Regions from separate parts of the Homo sapiens genome. Here region 1 is linked to region 2. The links are contacts of gene promoters, found by promoter capture Hi-C in blood cells and fetal thymus (Javierre and others, 2016). All regions are on one chromosome and are shown on one strand. The core of a region is centred on a gene start or on the middle of the fragment in contact, and the rest is flanking DNA. Distances in the headings are between cores, read along the strand shown. Region 1 overlaps GLDN (gliomedin). Region 2 holds the start of CYP19A1 (cytochrome P450 family 19 subfamily A member 1).

Region 1 (6,718 bases), core at 1,372-3,871, 34 kb before region 2:
GTCTCTTGCTGCTTTTAAGATAATCTCTTTATCTTTCCAGAATATTTGTGTAGATTTAGAAAACCTCAAGTGAGGGGAAAATGGAGGGCCAGGGTGGAAGGGAGCTGTACTAAACATGATACAATCATTGTCTTTTTCAAAAATTTCACTGATTACTCTTTCCATTAAACTATTTTTCAAAATGCCATGTTTTGATGTGAGGGGAAAATAATTTTTGTATTGTATCTAGATTTATTCTGTTAGGAGATCCAGAGGAAAACTTATATTGTATTTACTTTTTGTCAAGTATGTCAACAGCTATTTATTGCCTGCTTTAGAAACTTATTGTGAAATATTCATACATATCACACATGTAGAAAATGTGGGCCTGGTGTGGTGGATCATGTCTGTAATCCCAGTGCTTTGGTAGGCCAAGGTGGGAAGATTGATTTCAGCCCAACCAGCCTGGGTAACATAGTAAGACCCTTTCTCCATGAAAAAATTAAAAATTAGCTGGATATAGTGGCATGCATATATAATCCCAGCTACTTAGGAGGCTGAGGTGGGAGGATTGTTTGAACCCTGGAGGCTGAGGCTGCAGTGAACAGTGATCCCACCACTGCACTCCAGCCTGGGTGACAGAGCAACACCCTGTCTCAAAAAAAAAAAAAAAAAAAGGAAAAGAAAGAAAAGAAATGTGTACAGATAATTTAACGATGAATAATATGACAAACACATATATATGAAATGAAATGGAAGTTTACCAATGCCTTGGAAGACTTCTGGATGTCCCCTCACCCCCAATAGCTCTCTGAGTTGGAGTACACTTATCCATTTAATTCAGATAAGAAAATAGAGGCTTAGAGAGATGCCATCATTTACTCAAAATCACACAGCTTGCTGGTAGAAGAAATGGGACTGAACTCCAGGTTTCCTGATTCCAGGTCCACTCTACTTTCTATTATGGCTCTGGTGATTATCTTAACATCACCAGACAGAAAAAAAATTGATTCACTGCCTTTAGTCATTTTCATAAATGAATGTAATCAGCTGCACTAGGAACAAAATTTATTGTCTTAAAAAATGTGTAATTGCCCATTGAGAGGACCAGAAAAGACTTCACAATGGCTTCATTTGTTGCCTGGGGGATCACAGCAGAAGGGGTGGTTGGAAACAACAGAAGCAACAATAGGGAAAATTAGCCTTTCTGTTTGGTACTAATCACTGATCTGGGGCAGGTGCAGCTTCTGTAAAAACTATGAAGCAGTTTTCATTTCCTGACCTTTTGATTTCATTTGTATGCTAAATGTCAATTGAGATATTTACCAGTAAATTATGTTAATCTTTACTCAAGAATAGTCTTTTAACGAAATTGGGCTGTGTATATAAGATTGTATTGAGATGAAATATATGATATGAAAAGGTGTGGCCATAAAGTTAGAAACTTTTTTCTGGTCATAATGATTAAAAATTGGAATCAAAATAAGAAAACTCCCAATTGAAAGTCACAAAATCTAGATGGTCAAATTAAGGAGTCATATTTTGCATTAAGGGCCTCTTAAGTCTTGAGGGAGGTCTTGAGAAGGTTGAAGCTGGAAGAGTCCTTAGAGGTCATTGTCCTGGGGGTACTAGGCATGACCCATCCATGTTGTGGCCCTGCCCCCGCACCTTGTAGGGCATCTCCCAGTGCTCTCCCCCTCCCTGCCCATCACTGTCACTCTGCTCCAGTCGCACTGGCCTCGTCGCTGGTCTTGGCCTTGCCTAGCGTGCTGTGCCACACATCTTTACATGGTGAGCTTCACTGATGCCTCAAGTCAGGCTTTCCTGTCTCTCAACTGAAGGGAGCCCAGACAGCCACTCCCCATCACCTCATCTGGCCTTTTGTCTTTGTAGCACTTATCATTATTCAGTACAGTTGACCTTGAATGATACAGGTTTGCACTGTGTGGGTCCACTTGTACACGAACTTTTATCAGTAAATATAGTCAGTTATCCATATACACAGGTTCTGCATCCGCAACCAAACATGGATTGAAAATACAGTATTTGAGGGATGCGAAACTCTCAGAAATGGGTGGCTGACTTTTCATATACTTGGGTTCCACAAGACCAGCGTCAGGAACTTGAGTGTGTGCGGATTTTGGTATTCACAGGTGTCCTGGACCCAATCCCCCACAGATACTGAGGAATGACTGTATTATCTTGCTTACATATTTATTACCTACTCCTGCTCCCCAGAGAAAGGAAGCATTTTGAGAGCAGAAAAACTTCTTTGTTTTGTCTGCATCTCCTGTACTATGATTTGAATATGTCCTCCCAAATGCATGTGTTGGAAACATAATCCCCAACATAACAGTGTTGGGAGGTGGGGCCTAAAGGAGGACATTTAGGTCTGCAGAACTCCACCCTCATGAATGAATTAATGCTGATTATAAGGGGGCTTGAGTTCACTCTCTTGCCCTTTTGTCTTCTGCTGTGGAATGATGCAGGAAGAAGGCCCTCACTAGATTCTGGTACCTCAATCTTGGACTTCCCAGCCTCCAGAATTATGAGAAATAAATTTCTGCTCATTATAAATTACCCTATCTGTGGTTTTCCATTATAGCAGCACAAAAGAGACTAAGGTACCCTGTGTCTAGAATAGTGCCCGGTCCCAGGCCTGGAACTTCTCTGCTGAGAAGTGGTTCAAGTGGGAAAGCACATCAACCGTCTCTAAGGAAGAGTTTCTCTGAGAGAAGATGACAATAAATTGCTAATCAGTTCATGATATGAGAATCTGGTGGTGCTGGGGAGAGGGTGGGTGAAGCACAGGAAAAAGTCCAACCCAGCCACGCTAGCATGGAGGACAGACTTAGTGGGAACGATGGGCTGTCAACCTGAGTGCAAAATAATAAGCAGTAGCCCCGAGAGCTCAGGATGAATGCCCTGTTGGCTGTAAGCATCACTGAGGAGTGAGAATTATCTCCCAGAAGAAACAATGGGGCCCATCAGGTTCATCTCCCAGGTGGGAAGATCAATGCAGCAACGGACAGGGACATATTACATTGCATGGCGACTTGTTTTCAGCATTGAACGTTTGGTAGCTGCTATGGTTTGAGTGTCCCTTCCAAAACTCATGTTGAAACTTGATCCTGAATGTGGCAGTATTGAGAAAGGGGGCCTTTTAAGAGGTTATTGGATCATGAGGGCTCTGCCCTCAAGAATGGATTAATCCATTCATGGATTAATGGGTTATCATGGTAGTGGAACTGGTGGCTTCATGTGAAGAGGAAGAGAGTCCTGAGTGAGCACACTTCAATCCCTTGCTATGTGATGCTCTGTCTCACTTGGGACTCTTCAGAGAATCCTCACCAACAAGAAGGCTGTCACGAGATGCAGCCCATCAACCCTAGACTTCTCAGTCTCTATCACTGTAAAAGATAAATTCCTGGCCAGGCGCGGCGGCTCATGCCTATAGTCCCAACACTTTGGGAGGCCAGGGTGGGTGGATCACCTGAGGTCAGGAGTTCAAGACCAGCCTGGCCAATATGGGGAAACCTTGTCTCTACTAAAAATAGAAAAAAATTAGCTGGGTATTGTGCCATGCTTCTGTAATCCCAGCTACTTGGGAGGCTGAGGCAGGAGACTCGCTTGAACCCATGAGGCAGAGGTTGCAGTGAGCTGAGATCGAGCCACTGCACTCCAGCCTGGGTGACAGAGTGAGACTCCATCTTGAAAAAAAAATTCTTTTCTTATAAATTATCCAGTTTCAGGTATTCTGTTATAATAAACAGAAAGTGGACTAATACAATAGCGTTAGGGGAAAAGATAGCCCAAATGGGCCCTACTGGCAGCCTGACCAGCTTTTCCAGTTTTTTTCTCTGAAAAGGGAACTATTCTCATTGGATTAGCAGAACTCTTGGGGATCTTGGCCAAGGAAGAGGCCCCAGGAGAAAAAGAACAGACTTCTTGCTGACCTGGCATCAGATGGCTTGAGCTTGTTTTAATTCAAACTAAACAGAGATGGGACATAACTTGGCAGTATCTGTTAAAAAGAAAATGCTACAAATTAGGAATCCCACTTGGAAGAGTATACAAGGATATCTGGACAAAAATGCTCAATGCAACACTGTGTGGCAGAACATGCAAAGGTTTGTCAATAAGGGTCTTGTTGAACAAATTTTAAAGGATGACATAGATCTATATGTACTATTGGAAAGACAGCCTTGGCATGGTGTTAAGTGACGAAAGCAAAATGCAGCCCAAGCCACATAATGCAACACAACTTTTTGGTTGATAAATAATCCCTAGATGTTTTTGTATAAGTACACAAAAAAGCTGGGAGGTTCATGAAACCAAACAACTGATATTCTTCCCCCTAGAGACTGAGACTAGGGAATAAGAAGGGGATAGGTTTTTTTTTTTAATTTTTTATTTTTTGAGATGGAGTCTCACTCTGTTGCCCATGCTGGAATGCAGTGGCACCAACTTGATTTACTGCAACCTCCGGCTTGAGGCAGATTCAAGCAATTCTCCTGCCTCAGCCTTCCAAGTAGCTAGGACTATAGGTGCACACCACCACACCCAGCTAATTTTTGTATTTTTAGTAGAGATGAGATTTCACCATGTTGGCCAGGCTGGTCTGGAACTCCTGACCTCAGGTGATCTGCCCACCTCAGCCTCCCAAAGTGCTGGGATTACAGGCGTGAGCCACTGTACCTGGCAGATTTTTTTTTCTCACTTTTTAATTGAGATGGTTGTAAAGGTATGTTGGAATAATAAGTGATTTTTTTTTTTTTACTTTTCTGTGTTTTTAGTAATCCAGAGAGAATGGAAAGCATGTTAGTGTTGTGTGAACCCAAACATCATGTTCTCACGATTACCCCCATCACTTGAAATTACTTGGACAGATCTCTGTTGTTTCTAGGCAAATGAACAGAATGAACTAGAACTCTTGTAAAGTCCAGTGATTTTCAAATTGTTCATTAGCCATAAGACTTTTATTTTCCTTATATAAGCACCAAATCCCAAAATATAAAGCAAATAAAAATGGAGCTGCCCTGGGTAAACAGGTGGGGTTGACCTTAGTTATTTGTCTGTAAAATGAGAGGGTTGGACATGACAGATGATTTTCAGACTCTGATCCCATCAGAGGATGCTGGGTAAGAGGTGGTGAGAAACACTCAGAGGATGTGGGGAGGAGGGATGAGAAAGCTGATGCCCAAAGAAGGCAGGGAGTAGCTGGTTTAGGCTCACCTAGCTTGCTTCCAGAGCTGAGACTATTTCCCCTTCATCTACTTTCTTTTTTATTCTTTTTTGGAGACAGTGGCTTGCTCTGTCACTGAGGCTGGAGTGCAGTGACATGAACATGGCTCACTACAGCTTTAACCTCCCAGGCTCAGGAGATCCTCCTGCCTCAGCCTCCCAAGTAGCTGGGACTACAGACATGCGGCACCATGCCCGGCTAATTTATTTACTTTTTGTAGTGATAGAATCTTTCTATGTTATCTAGGCTGGTCTTGAACTCCTTGGTTCAAGTAATCCTCCTGTGTCGGCCTCCCAAAATGCTGGGATTATAGACGTGAGCTACTGCTACTTTTTTGTACTGCTCAGGCTTTGCAAAAGGAATTGTCTGAATTCAACTTGAAACACAGATTTTTGCTTTAGTGTACTTTTCATATAAACAGGATATTAAATTTTTACTAATAGATGTGTAATTTAAAATGTGCCAATTTCTGTGTGTAGGTAAAAGGCTTAAATCAAAAGCATGTCTTTCTCATCAGAATGAATAGAGCTAAATGTGGTAAGCTGCTACTGCTCATTGGAACTCGAAACCTCACAGTGTTTGGCTGGCTGCTCTCTTGAACTCCCTTTCTCTCACCTTTTACTCTCAGAATGAATTCACACAAAAGTAAGAGAGCAAACCTGCTCATTATCATCAGCTACTCTGGTTTGTGTGTTACTAAAACAATGAGGCCTGTCATGGTTTCTCTGAAGTTCTCCAAGCACAGGTTACAGTTTGCTGGCTGGAACACTGTTTAAATGCTAAGTCATCTTCCAGGTCTGATCTATTTTGTAACTTAAATTCCATATCTCTTAGAAAACTGAATACTTTGTATGACTCTCCTTAATTATGCAAACTGCTGTTATTATATGCATGCAAATGATCCTGTTAGAAAAAGCTCCAGGAGATGATAATTCACCTTACCATTGGCTGAGATTGCTTGGACTGGGGAGATGGGGCTATGAATGTGGTGGTCCACCTGCTTGTCACTGGAGGGTTAGATCGCAGATGTTAGAAGAATCCTTCATGGGATCTGAAGCTGAGGTCAGACACCCTGGACTCATTTCTGGGAAAGGCAGGAATTCACACAGGGGCCAAGACTTGGTGAGGGCACTCTGCAAACACCAACGGGAATGTGGGTCTTGCCTTTGTTAAATGTAAATAAATAAAACTGGAGGCCACAGTTTAGTACCCAAGGCCAATTACTCATAGCCACATAACCAAAACTTAGCTCTTACTGATTCCCTGCCCCCCAAAACATAAACCTTCAACATAAACAGAACACTCAGTAAGCTTTTCATCTTATCAGCATGATTCAATGAAATTAAACCAACGGATATAGGCAAATCAGCTTACATAGTCATATGCCTTAAGAAAGAATATATGACATCCAATCCTGAAACAGGCCAAAACGCTTCCTCCTTTATGCTCTTGAAACTGAGCTGTAACTGCTGTAAATTTGAGACTTTCTGCCAC
Region 2 (6,942 bases), core at 232-2,731:
TTTAAAAGTGTGTAGCATCTCTCCTGGCCCCTCTTCCTCCTGCTCCCACCATGTGAGATGTTCCTGCTCCTGCTTTGCCTTCCTCCATGAGTAAAAGCTCCCTGAGGCCTCCCCAGATGCAGGTGCTGCCATGCTTCCTGTTCAGCCTGTGGAACCATGAGCCAATTAAACTTCTTTTCTTGTAAGTTACCCAGTCTCGGGCTTTTCTTTATAGCAAGGCAAGAATGGACTAATACACATACCAATTCTTGCAGGTAGGATTTTTTGGCACAGGAGAGAAAGCTGAGTAGTATCAGACTTCTTGCCCCCTACTCTCCAGGGTGAGCCAGGGTAGAGCCTCTGAGAATGCACAAGGAAACTGAAGTGACATCTCAATCAGAAATTCTGAGTCAAAGTTTAGATTCCTGAGTTTTAATAGGAACATTGACCAACTTCAGTATTCTTAGAAGAGCATACAGGATAAGAAGAAATTAGGAAAGCATGAAGGTCCAAGTGTTTCATAAAGTACCCCCACTGTGGGGATATGATGACTGGGAGGGGATGGCAGTGATGTAAAAAGCTTTGTCCATTTCCTCCCAACTCAAACGTTCTGTGACCTACTTGAAGAACTGTCATGTATCCTTATCTCTTTTCATCCAGGTATCAGGTTTAGGGCCAATGGGGAGGAGCCACTGAGAGGGAGGGTTGACACTCAGCATCATTCAGATCTTCATTTAATTCAGTAAACACTTAACTGAGCACTTCCTGTGCCTGGTATGATAATGGGCATTGGAGATACGGAAGTAAAAAAGACAGGCAGATTACCCTGTGAGCAGCTGGAACACCGTGGAGCCTTCTGGGCTTCTCTTTATCCTAACATTCATTGCAGTTACTGTTGACTGATCATCTCTCAGCAATACCCACCATTAACCATGGAATAGAAGCCTCCTGAGGCTAGGGGCCATGTCACCCCCAACACATAGCACAGTTCCTGATTTGGAATTCACTATTACCCGTTGAATAAATGAGTGAATGAACGAATGAATAAATGAAAAGCTGTATAGTGAAGGCACTTCTATGTAGAACAATGTGGTGTGTGGTGGGGGGTGTGATCTTATGATTACATGTATATAGATTTTTGTCCATGGTTCTTGTCCATAACTCCCATGACACTTGCTGAGGTCTTTTGCTATAATGTAGAGGTGCTTTAGGCCTCAGGAAACAGAATATTTCTCTGGCCTTCTTTGCCCTCCTTTCATCCACCCAAGGCGGGACTCTATAATCTGATTGTGGGTCATAAGACCCTCATTCCAGAGGAGGTCATGCCCCATACCCTGGAGGAAGGAATGCTGCACAAAGAGAGGAAGAAGAATCTGGACAGACAGACCTTGCTGAGATTAGATCATACCCTTTTTGTCCAATCACATTTTGTTCAATCACATGCTTCAGTCATGGACAACAAATGAAATCTCCATAAAAGGCCCAAAGGACAGGGTTCAGGGAGTTTCTGGAGGGCTGAACACGTGGAGGCAAACAGGAAGGTGAAGAAGAACTTATCCTATCAGGACGGAAGGTCCTGTGCTCGGGATCTTCCAGACGTCGCGTATGTATCTCTTAATCTGACTGAGCCCTCAACCTGTGGGATCAGACACTCTTTCCAGGTAGATAGTGTTGGAACTGAGTTGGAGGACACCCAGCTGGTGCCCGCTGCTTGGTGTGTGGGGGAAAATCCCCTACATTTGGTCGCAGAAGTCTTCTGTGTTGATGACTGTTGTCGTGGTGTGAGAGCAGAGGGAAAACACTGCTTGAGTGTTTTTCTGAAATAGGAGGGCCTAAGAACTATACTGTTCTATGCCACAGAACTGGCCCCCTACTTTCCTTGAAAGGCTGGCTATCCAATGGTGAGGAGAGGAAGTGGTAGCCTGAACCAGCCTCCCCATTTCCCCACCTCCCACCCCAGTTCAGAGCCCAGATCCAGTAGACAGAGCAGAGATGAGGCCTGCTTGGAGCCAGGCAGGCTCTATTAGACAACTTCAGGCCAAGAAGCTGCCCCTCTTGGGATGCAGGACTCAAAAGGCTTGTAGCATGGCCACCCCGTGGGCTGGGTTGGTGGAAAGCCTGGGATATTGCTCTGGGGCAAGAGGGGCAGAAGGAAGCGCAAATGAAAAGCCAGACTCCTTTCCTACCAGACTCCACTGTCAGATCCCTCTCCAACTCTTCCTGTGTGGGATGATGGCATTTTTCACAGAAGAAGGGGGACATGTTGATATGGCCTACAAGGTAGACATCTTCACTCATCTCTCACCCTAAAGTGGCTGTGCCCAAGCAGCTGCCATGCTCTGCCCTCTTTCCTCTTCTCCTCTATCTTCTCTCTCCAACCCTCTTTCCACCGCAGTGCCACACAGTGACCTATCTCCATCACTGGCCTATTTCAGTGTTGCCCACTTTAAGGCCTAACTCCGAGTACCCTTCCTCATCTAGCCTTGACTTCCTAGGCCAGTCCCAAGCACTGTGAGCTCTACAAGCTGCAGGGGCTCTGTGGTTATGCACCTGGGCTTTGGAATCAGACCTGACCTTGAAACTGTTTTTTAACTGCATGACTTTAGATATGCTACTCAAGTTCTTTAAAGAGACTGTAATTGTATCTATTTCATAGGGTTGTGAAGCTTTAATAAGAAAATACTTGTAAAGCACTTGTATAATAAATGTTCAACACGGGTTGGTATTGTTGGATATGGGCCATATGAACTGGCTGAGACTTACACTGTGTGTGCCTTGTGCTGTTAGTTGACACTTTAGTTCTTCTGTGCCTTGTGCTGTTAATCGACATCTTAGTTCTTCCACATCCTATTTCTTCAGTTGGGTTACAATATTCTTAAGGCAGGGACCTATCTTAACTGTCCTCTCACAGCAGGGACTTGTGCCAAGTAGGAATATTTGATTAATGGATTCATTAGCTAATCACACTTTGTAGATGCTTTTTGAGGAACAGAACTTTTGAATGCACGATAAACTTGGGTTCTCGTCTGAATACCATGGCTTTGAGGTTGGTTATATGGAGCCTTTCAGTGTGAATCCCTAAGCCTCTTGAGATTTCTTGAGAGGCAGATATGCCTGCATAGCCTGCCCTGCCTGATACTTCACAGAATGGGCTGCTACTTTTTACTTATTATTAAAAAAAAAAAAAAGCTATCAATCTGGCCTGTTTTGTTGACACAGGAGGCTCAGGATATAATGCGGACACAGGGAGATATCTCAATTCCCTTTTTTTGGAGACCAAAGCAGCCAAGAACATTGTGTGCTATCTTTACAATGAGAAGTAGTTTTTCCATTAAAAGGCAGATGCTTCATTTCCAAAAGTTAAATAGAATGGTCCTTAAAAATGATTCCAGCTGGTTAACTTTAGGGCTCTGGAGAATAAAATCAAATTCAAGAATATACCCCAACTTTAGTTCCACAGCATTTCTTCCTGATTGTGAAGTAAATAATTTTCCTGGCCTGGCACTTGGGTATTCTTGTCTTCAGTGATGAGATTGACAGCTACACTGTGACTTTTGATGGTTTTACTGCCCCACCACCCTTCCACCACACTGGTGATTAGGGAGAGAGCCACCCTAAAAGTTGTCACCACATGCATCTTCCACTCAGCCTCTTATGGTTTTAACTCCCCATTCCTACTGTTAAACCCCAAGAAACTTCACACCATCCAACCAAAGTCAGCAATTCTCCCTTTTTTCTTTCTTTTATTCTTTCATGTATTCATTTACTCAGCAAATGGTAATTGGGTGCCTACTATCTGCCAGGAACTGTGCCAGGAGCCAGGAATAGCATGGAGAGCAAAGCCAGGCATCATTCCTGAAGCCTGGAGTGGGGAGACAGATTTACCAAACAATATTAGACATGAGGGTGCAATTCTAAATGCGGCCACGAGACAAATGCTCTGGAAGAAAGGAATGCAGTTCCTTGAGATCATATCACTGAAGAGCCTGTCCTAGAGTTGGATGTGTGGTTCAGGGAAGGCTTCCCTGAGAAAAGGATGCTTGTGTTGGCACCTGAAGCTGAGTTGTAAACTAGGCGAAGATAGGGGTGAGGAGAATTGCAGAGAGGAGGAACAACACGTTCAAGGCCCTATGGCAGGAGATGGCATGGCTTATTTGAGGAACCGTAAGAAGCCAATGCGGTGCCACATGGAGCGTCAGGAGCAAGGAGGAGGGAGTGAAATGAGGCTGTAACCAAGGCAGGGACCAGACTCTGTGGGTGGGACCTTCCTTGTAGGGCTGAGGCCTTTACTGTAAAAGCAATGGGAAACAAATGAGGAGTTTTACGTGTGTGTGGGATGGGGAGGAGTCGGTAGATGGATGACAGATTTTCATTTTAAAAGATTACCTTTTACTGCCAAGACTTGCAGTGGCTTCTGTCACTATGGAAACCATGTATGATCTCTGACCTCCACCAGGGCCAACTTCAGCCTTTAAAACCACCTGGAAATAAGGAAGTGCTGAGTTCTAGAAAATGTAACTTTCTCTTTCATCTGTATGTAAAAAGGTAGTTGAAAAACAGAACCGTGACTAAATTTAGATCATTTAGCCAATCTTGATACTAGTAGGGGTTTTTGTATAAAACACAGTGTGTTGTTAGCATTTTCTTGGAAGTTAGCCTTTGGTGCTTCCAGGTAAGAGCACCAAATCTGCTTATCTCTAGGGTTGGGAATAAGAATAGATGATATTGCTTCCGTTGTGAGATTTTGGTCCAAGTCGGGCTGGTAACAACAGATTTCCGCCTATCGTAGTAGCAGTGTCTTAGACCTTTGAGTTGCCCACTCATTGTTTGACGTGGAGCTGTCTGTGGTTGTGAAGGTGATGCCATTTCAAATCCCCACTTCCCATTGTTTTCTCTCCTTCTTTGCAACAAACATGCCCTCCCACCCCACCCCACTCCACCTTTCTAGTGTAGTGTACCCAATTGTCACAGATCAGATTCTCTGGAAACAAGTGCTGAGATGGAATTTGGAGTACAAAATGGTTATTAGGGATCAGCACCTATGAAGGAAAGAAGGAGAAGCAGGATTGGGCAGAGGGAGAAATCCAGCACAGTCCAACCCTGCAAAGCCTCAGCCAACCCACTGGGAAGCTCTGGATTGTGTATTGCTCATCAGAGTGTCCTGTGTCAGGCCAGAGTGACTGGGCTTTTACCTACCTCACTCAGTCACAGGACAGATGTGGGATGCCCTGGGAAGGTATGACCTGGGGCCAGGTGGCTCTCTGCAGCTGAAGCATGCTTTAATCTTAATCTCTGCAGCCAGGCAGTCAGTCCTTTCTTGAAGGGGGACCCTCAGGTCCCCACATCTCCACATCTACCACATCAACCACCTGAATCTGCCATTCCAACATTAGTAGGCTTTAAATTGTAACCGTGACAGGCTGTAGAAAGAAATCTTTTCCTTTTTCACCTGGAGTGATGGCCTTTCAATAAATGAAAAAGTGATTGTTTTCAGAAACAATGAAAATGTAAAGGAAGCTCTAAGAGTGGATTCTGTGCAATCATGAGAATGGCTCATGAATTTGAAACTGCAAAATCCACAGAAGTAAGTTAATACTGCAAAGCTCCACTTATGGAACTCGAGCCACTGTTTTTGAAAGATAAAACAAAGCCTTACATGTGTAGAGCACTTCAGTTTTCAAAGTGCTTTCTCATGTCATTTGAGTTCCATAATAAGCCTGTGAACGGGGCAGGGCAGGTTTTATAAGCATTTCACAGATGAGGAAGTCAGGGCTCAGGAGGTTTAAGTGATCTGCCCAAGGTCACATTGTTGAAACCTCATCAACGTTCACCCATGCCCTGTTTATCAAAAGTAGGAAATTTTTGGCCCCCATCTTGGGCCACTGAGGAATGCTCAAAATGATGGACAGGAAGTGAAACAATAGAGCAGGGAAATGATTCAAAGTGATGGAGTGGAAAACAGCTCAGACTGGCACTTGGCTCCAAGGCTTAAAAACAAACCTGGAGCAGACACTGAATGCTAGAATGTGTAAGCTAGTCAGGAAAGAAAGCCAAGCCTGGTCTAGCAGATTAAGGAGGATTTTAAGAGATCAATGATGTAAGAACATGATTTCCTAAAAACCATGTAGGGGAACTGTCATCTCTGCAGTGAATAGGTGCATATAGGTCCTAAAAAAAAAGTGAATTTGGGGCCTGATAGCCTAAGACCTTTCATTCCTGGGTTGCAAAGGCAGAGTAACAAGCTAGAATAGATATGCCTCACCTCTCCAGAGAGACTGGTTGGGAGTGACCAAAAGGGATTCCTGCCAATATTAAGCCTGGAGAAGATGACACCCCATCTGCTGAGCCTGGAGACTCAAGCCAGGGACCAGAGGAGTGGCCCCGGCTAAGAGAAGCTTACCTTTTATTGCCAAGACTTGCACTGGCTTCTGTCACTATGGAAACCACGTATGATCTCTGACCTCCACCAGGGCCAACTTCAGCCTTTAAAACCACCTTTCCAAATGAAACAAGAAAGTGCTGAGTTCTAGAAAATGTGACTTTTTAGGTCAAACTGTGGACCCTAAACATGTGCTACTTTCTTAAAGCTGTATGAGTAAACACATGGTCTCCAAACCACCCCCGATTCTGTAATCATAAGAGGGCACCAGTATCTGGGCATCAGTGAGTATCCTGGCAGATGGATCTGGCTGGATGAGGTAAGGGAGTTGTACAGGTGTGCTGAGTCTATCTCTACTCCTGAGCCTGGGAGATGTGAGAAAACAGGAAAATGAGAGTCTCCCCGCCAGTGACTTGATAGGGGATTGAGAACCACCATTTTTGTCCCTTCTGAGAAGGCACCTCAGCTGCTGGCCCTGAGCCCAGAGAGCAGACAAAAGAAAACATTACCCTTATACTTAGGGGGCACAGCAATGCTCTTAGAAGAGGCTCACATGAAACCAAGCCACTAGGGAACAGTAATAC

Evidence for each region. The method cuts DNA at HindIII sites, captures the fragments that hold promoters and counts their contacts. A CHiCAGO score of 5 or more calls a contact.
Region 1: a fragment that was not itself captured here is called in contact with the fragment with the promoter of CYP19A1 in region 2 in 1 of 17 cell types (M1 macrophages); the score reaches 5.6 in M1 macrophages.

Annotation. Positions count from the first base shown.
Region 1 is chr15:51,368,675-51,375,392 of GRCh38, reverse strand. The region is part of intron 1 of GLDN (gliomedin); the gene reads right to left. Among named protein-coding and RNA genes, the nearest start is that of GLDN, 30 kb to the right of the region's middle. The HindIII fragment of the contact is 7,832 bases long and covers 1-6,537 here.
Region 2 is chr15:51,333,135-51,340,076 of GRCh38, reverse strand. It overlaps CYP19A1 (cytochrome P450 family 19 subfamily A member 1), which reads left to right and starts at 1,481. Exons shown (of 10, transcript NM_000103.4): 1 at 1,481-1,582. RefSeq lists cis regulatory regions at 1,175-1,204, 1,269-1,286, an enhancer at 1,238-1,317 and promoters at 1,238-1,556, 979-1,556. The HindIII fragment of the contact is 2,086 bases long and covers 562-2,647 here.